Regions from separate parts of the Homo sapiens genome. Here region 1 is linked to region 2. The links are contacts of gene promoters, found by promoter capture Hi-C in blood cells and fetal thymus (Javierre and others, 2016). All regions are on one chromosome and are shown on one strand. The core of a region is centred on a gene start or on the middle of the fragment in contact, and the rest is flanking DNA. Distances in the headings are between cores, read along the strand shown.

The links. Contacts are between HindIII fragments. The CHiCAGO score rates a contact against its expected background, and 5 or more counts as called.
Region 1: a contact is called between a fragment that was not itself captured here and the fragment with the promoter of NRGN in region 2, in 1 of 17 cell types (monocytes). The highest score is 5.1, in monocytes.

The regions. Positions count from the first base shown.
Region 1 is chr11:125,067,207-125,070,734 of GRCh38, reverse strand. The region is part of intron 1 of SLC37A2 (solute carrier family 37 member 2); the gene reads right to left. Among named protein-coding and RNA genes, the nearest start is that of SLC37A2, 5.7 kb to the right of the region's middle. The HindIII fragment of the contact is 4,165 bases long and covers 1-3,528 here.
Region 2 is chr11:124,738,663-124,741,864 of GRCh38, reverse strand. NRGN (neurogranin) reads right to left here and starts at 1,923. Exons shown (of 4, transcript NM_006176.3): 1 at 1,766-1,923. The coding sequence starts at 1,780. RefSeq lists silencers at 1,785-2,104, 2,165-2,224. The HindIII fragment of the contact is 6,441 bases long and covers 1-3,202 here.

The DNA of each region.
Region 1 (3,528 bases), core at 575-3,074, 330 kb before region 2:
GAGTAGGGATCATGGGCTGAGACTCCAGGTTCTCCCCAGGAGCCCTCATTTCCTTTTCCAAGCAGCCTCTTCCCATCAAAGCTCATTTTAAACAGCCCTTTCTGCTGCCCTTACCATGCACCTCTTTGCAGTCAACAGGAAAGTAAGATTTGAGAGAGCTAGCCCATAGGACAGGGAAACAGACATCAGACTTCGAGCAAAATTGGCTGAGTCCTAATTTCTGGTTCTGCCACTTAATGTGACCTTGGGCAAGTTGTTGTACGTCTCTAAGCCTCAGTTCGATCTTCCTTTAAATAAGATCATATTCCCCTGCTGCACGAGAGTGTTATAAAGATTAAATGAGATATCCTGGATGTGGAAGTGTCTGGCACACAGCAGATTTTCTCTCAGTATGAATTTGAATGTCTTTCCCCTGCGTCCTCCTCAGAGTGGGCACCAGGATCCGGCAGTGAAAGCCCTTAGCTAACTCCACAGGGCAGAACCATCCATTCTAGCTCAGCTGTGGCCTTTTGCAGCTCACAGGGGAAGATCGAGGTGTGGGAAAAATGGCACCACAGGAGCTCACAGCTCCTGCTCTTCCTGCCTGCCCAATTCACCCTCCTGCCCATTCCTGCTCATCCAGCTGTGGTCACCCTGGTATTTCCTCCCACAGGCTCTTCTTCTGCACGTTCTGGGCCATCCCCCTCAGAGGGCCCCAGGAAATGGGCCCAGCCCCATAAGCACCAGCCACAGTCATCTCCCATGCTGCCAGCTGCCCCCAGACGCACCCACACAGACACTGGTACAAAAGGCAGGAACCAGCCAGGCTCCAGGCTGGGGAACCTCCAGGTGCTCTGTGGCTCTGAAACGCCATGGACAAGCCATTCATTGTCATCCTGACGAGGAAGGCCTAACAGGAGGAGGAGAGCAACATCTTCCTGGACAGAAACTCCGCCATCTCTGACTCTTGCCTGGATGTCTGCAGCTGTCTCCACACACCTGGCGCCACATGACTCCCAGCCTCCTGTCCAGGGGCACCTTTTGTTCCTACCAGCTGGAGCTACATGTTACTACTTCAGAGACAGGGGACAGGCCATGTCTCCACTTGCATGCCTTTGCTGGCTCTGTGACCTCTGCTCAGAACACCTCCAGATCCAAGTCAAAGACTTCCTTCTTCTCCTAATGGAGATGATTCTCTCCCTCCACAGAAATTTATAAGCACCTAGCCAATACCAACTACGCTAGACACTGGGCTAAGTGCTTTAAGCAGCTTCTCATTTAATTTCACCAAAACCCCGTGATATAGGTACATCATTTTTTCCATTTCATAGATAAGGAAATTGAGCCTGGGAGATGTTAAGTAATTTGTCCAAGGCCAAATGGCCATGTAATCTTTTCCCCACCCAACACTATCATTAGGAAGGCAGCGGAAAGACCATGGGCTTACGAGTCAGACTAATCTTGATTCCAACTCCAGCTCAGTCATTTATCAGCTGTGTGGTGCTGGACAGGCTTACATAACTGCTCTGTGCCTCATTACACTCATATGTTCCACAGGGAAGCTAACATTCACCTTGCAGTTCCACAAAAATTACAAATAAACAATGCCTGGCACAAAGTAGTAGGAAAAACAAATAGAATATAGTCAATCATTAGTGTTTACTCAGTGTTTCATATCAGCCTGGCACTGACCTAAGTACCTTACACGTAGTACCTCATTTAAACCTCAAAACACTCGTGTGATACAGGTATTATTATTATCCTCATTTTACAGAGGAGGAGTCCAAGGCCCAGGGCCAGTCCACTTTCAGCTTCCTATTCTGTCTTCTTCACTTCTTAAATGCCCTCCTTGGGGACATGTGAAAGCAGTTAAATGTGACAGAGATTTGATTTCTCATTTTCAGACTATAAGTCTTTATTTTTATTTGTCTGCACCCTGGCCTGTATTTTGTTTAGCACAAGAAAGGTGAATTGGGTTAATATGTATCTGTAATAATAACATCACCATCATTAATAATGATAGTAAAAGCCGCCATGTATTCCATGCTTCCTGTATACCAGGCAATGTATACATATAATCTCTAACCTTTTATGTGTTAAGTGCTCAGCAAGTCAGTTTTCTTCAAAATCTCCCCAACCGACTTCTGCATTCCCCTCGCTGGTCCTCTGAATGACATGGCACATAGGAAATGCCATCCTTTGGCACTCAATAAGTAGAGCAGGGCCTTCTAAAATTGCTGACTGTGTGTACACAGCCCCTCTCCAGCTTGATTCTTAGTTCCAAGAAGGTAGAACCCTGTCTTGATTGTCTTTGCAGGCCTCAGAGCTCAGCATAATAATGTACTTACAGAAGAACTACGTGACATTTAGTGTTTGATAGGAATCCAAATCTAAACTTATCTGGAAGGAAGTAAAAGGATACCTGTTGAGTACCCTCCAGCAGCCACAAGACGTCAAGAATGTTTCCTTATATTATCGCATTTATCCTCAAGAACCCATCTGACTTTTATTGATGAGGAAACTGGGGCTCAGCAAAGTCAAGGCTCACAGTGGTGAAAGGATTTCAACCAAGGTCTGTCATAAATCCCAGAGATGTTGGGGAATACCGTAGCTGAATTCACACCTTGAGAAGTGTGAAAGTGAAGAGTGTTGGAGGCTGGAGAAAGTCATGTTATGCGTATTACTGAGCCCTTCTAGAATGCCAATGTGTTCTAGATGGTTTATAATGATCCACCCTCCCCACTCCCCATTCTCTCTGAAATGTTAGTTACTTTGGTTAAAAGATATAACTAATATACATGAATGAGACTCTACTAGGAACAATCGTGGCAGAGAGGTATGACTTTGTATACATGGTATTGAAACCTGTTTTTGTTTATTAAAAGGAAAAATATTACACATAAGAAAAATGACTGGTTGTTCCAGAATAAGAAAGGGAACAGGGAAGGTCAAATCTGAATGGATACATTTTAGGTTTGTAGAAAGGAAATTTGATTTGTCTTGGATTATAGTACATCAAACAATAAGTCTAAAAATAAGCAATTAAATGTGTTAAAATTTTGCCAAAGTTGGCAAAATCTTGATAAGTTTGTGAATATTTAATTTAAAAAGAGGAAGGGCTCCTGGAAAACCACAAAGATTTGTTCTTTCATCTTTTAAAAAGAGAGGTGCTAGAAATCATTAGATTTATTTAATATGTTAATATTGATCAATTGCTTGGAAATAATTGTCAAGTCAGAAGAGATGCTCAGCCTTCTCTAGGTTAAATTTATATTGGTAAAATATTATTATTTATCTAAATATTTGAGAAATTATATGCTATAAAAGAGTTGTGCAGACTTCTCAATGCCCTCTCTGTACATGACATGTTTCTATTTATCAGCACCCTGATGGTGCCTTCCCCGATAACAACAGTATACGTGTTACTAGTCACGATTTCAATTATTATTTAAAATGTTACTGGAGGCTGGGCATGGTGGCTCATGTCTGCAATCCTGGTGCTTTGGGAGGATGAGGTGGGAGGATGAGGTAGGAGGATGGCTTTAGGCC
Region 2 (3,202 bases), core at 674-3,173:
AGTTCCAGGCAGGGACCCCCACATCCTACTCTAATTACTACTGCAGACACAGAGGAGACCAATTCCATTCCTTCCCTGGCCTCTTGGATTCTTTGTTTACTCACCTCTTTCCAGTGACCACGTCTCCCACTTCCCCTTCCCCAGCAATACTCCCCTGTCATCCTCACCTCTCCCCTCCCCCCAGCTCATTTCCCAGAACCCACCATCCATTTATCTTCTCTACTTTATACAACACTGCTGGGAGGAAGGGCTCTTCCTCAGTGGAGCCCAGGAACCTCCATGAGGAGCCCATTTCTCCCTTCACAACCAAAAAATTGCTTCCTGTAGAATAACAAGCAGAGGGAAAAGGCTGGAAGGAGATATGTTATCGGGGTGTTCTCCAGGGGGTGGGACTGTAGGTGACTGACATGTTTGTTTTTCATACTTTTCTCTAGGTTTTACGTTTTCTATTATGAGCAGATTACTTTTATAATCAGTAAATATTTAGAGGAGAGGTTAAACCACAGCTCTTCGAAGAAGACAGGGCTATGTTTGAATCCTGCCTCCACAGTTAGGAGTCATGCTTCCTTGGAAAAATCTAACTTTCTAAACCTCAGTTGGCACATCTGTGAAATAATACCTACTTCACAGGGTTGTTGCTATGATTAAATATAAAGTGCTGGCTACAGGGCAGGCATTCACAAACTGGCAACTATTACTTAAACTAATAAGAGTTAAAATCGCAACCACCACCACTTGCCCCTAAGTGTTCTCTGCCTCTTGGTACCCAGACATGGGAAAGTCTCACCTATTATAGAACTGGGCTATCCTTCCCTTCCAAAGCCCACTTTTTTTTTCTTTACTATGCCATAAGGTGGCAAAGTCAGTAACCTCGTGTATCATTAGCTGGTTGACTGAATGACTGAAAATACAAGGACTTTGGAATAGTCTTTCTCCAAGTGCAGAGGCAAAAAATAAATAAGCAAACAAATAAATTTCATATACGTATGATCACTGTACTCTTCCAGTGAGGCAGGAGCCAGGGCCTATGCCAGGCGCTTTCATACCGAGTCACCTTTACAGCAAACCCCTCGGGCGCTGGGCACTTGCAGTACCCAGGTTTCCGCGTGGGCGCTGACAAATTGCAGACACTTCCTTTCCTCGCCAGCAGGGCTCTCTCGCGGTCACTTCACCCAGCCCCTTCCGAGCGAGAAGGCCTTGGGGGCCGGGACAACCCCTCCCCAGAACCACCCTGACTAGGCTCTTTGCAGCCAGCATCACTACCGAGCTAACCAATATGGACCAGCCTGCGCTGCACAGGGCGCTTAGGCGATCGTTGGAGGGTCATGAGGATCAGCCTGTCCGCCCACCGACGGCGGCGCAGTGGGATGGGGAACGGGGTGGGGGCCGAAAGACGGGAGGAAGGAGTCGCTGCAGTGTCTCCAGGCGATGGTTGCCAGCGTCTCACTGGGGAGGAAGTTCCTCCTGTCATCCAACCCGCAGTTCCCCTCTTGCAGAGCCCTGCCGAGCTCCCAGTCCAGCCTAGGCTGTCTAACGGATGGGCGCTCAGACGCCCCCGCGAGTTGAGGAGCATTTTTCCTAGGGCTTCCAAGTCGGGCGGGCGCCTTCCACCATCCACCACCCACGTCTCGGCAAGGACCCCTTTTCTTTCTGCTCCTAGGTCTTCCGCATCCACTTCCATCCCTCTCTCGCCCTCCAGGGCTTTCTCAGGCGCCTCTCGCAGCGGACCCCGCCAAGTGCCCCTCCCCCGGGCCCTCTAACTTACGGTGCAGCAGTCCATGCTGGTGTCGGGGGGTCCTCTGCGGGGACGAAGGCTGGCGCAGGGCGGGGGTGGGGTCTGTGTGGTGCCGGGTGGGGGCTCTGGGGCAGTCGGCCGCCAGCCGACCCGCGCCGAAACAGCAGCTCTGCTCTCGGGTCCGGTCTCCCGCGCTCGGCTCCGCTCGCGAATGTAACCTGAGCCCCGCGGCCGGGAAGCCAATCAGGAGCAGCCTCCGGCAGGGTGGGCGGGGAGAAGTGGAGGGAGGGCCACGCCCTCTCGCGGCTCTCTGCGCCGCGCTCCCGCTCCTGCCCCAGCCCCTCCGCCTACACGCTTGTATCCAAGCCTCCTACACACTCCATCCTCCCGGGCGCAATCCCCTGGCTTGCTAGGCGGCAGACTGCCAGGCAGATGTACGCCGGAGTAGGCAGAAGGAGGCCCCCGACACCCCGAGCACAAACACCCACATCTGGGCACAGCACCTACTCCCGCTCAGAGAAAACCACGCACCCCTCACCCATCCCTCCATACTTCCACAACCTAGCAGGAGTCCCAAATATGGCTCCCTTTCACTTCACTCCCCCTCAGTCCGCAAAGAAAGGCTCCCTAACGGGCGGTAAAAAGGTCTCATCATCACTCCTGCTACAGACGGAGAAACCTGTTGGTACAACCTGGCGATGGGCATGCGTCCACACAAAAGCTCACAAGCCCCACATGTCCACATATGATTTTCCCAGGCCTTCTTCCAGCATACAGACACTGCAGATACAACCTGCAAAAATAACTACGCAGCCCTTCAGTTGCAGGTAAATGCGGACACCCTGTTGCGGGCGCCCGCGCGCTCACGCACGCACACGGACAGTCACCCAACTCAAGCTGTCGGCATGACGTATCTATTATCGATCTGTCTACATGAGCTGCAACAAACAACATCATATATGCACAACACCTATTTTGTATGTATTTATATATGGGCACAGACTTGGAAGAAGTATCCTCCTCCCTTTCATACCAGACTCTGCCTAACCTTTTGATCTGCTGCCTCAGAATAAGACAAAAGCTGGCCATCCTCGCCCTTGCTCCTGAGAAGAAGAAAAATACCCTAAACCCAAGTGTAGAGAATTCGAAGTAATTGGCTCTTGGGTCCATGATGAGGCAGGATGTGGGCTTCGTGAGAGGCTGGGAAGGGGAGCTATGGAAAGAGCATCTGGGAGGGACAGACTGCCACTGTTGTGGTCGTCAGCCTCCCCCAACTCGGCAGGGTACAAAAGCTGGCAGTGTGGCTTGTTATGTGGGTAGGGTAGGCCTTCTCTGAGAAAACTAGAAAGTCTTCTCAGCTAAGGTCCCAGAGAAGGGAAGGAGGAAAGGATGGCTCCTGCTGGGAGCAAAGGTGGGAAATGCCCTGTGGCTCTGGTTGGGACAGCAGATCCTGAGACAGCTCTGCTG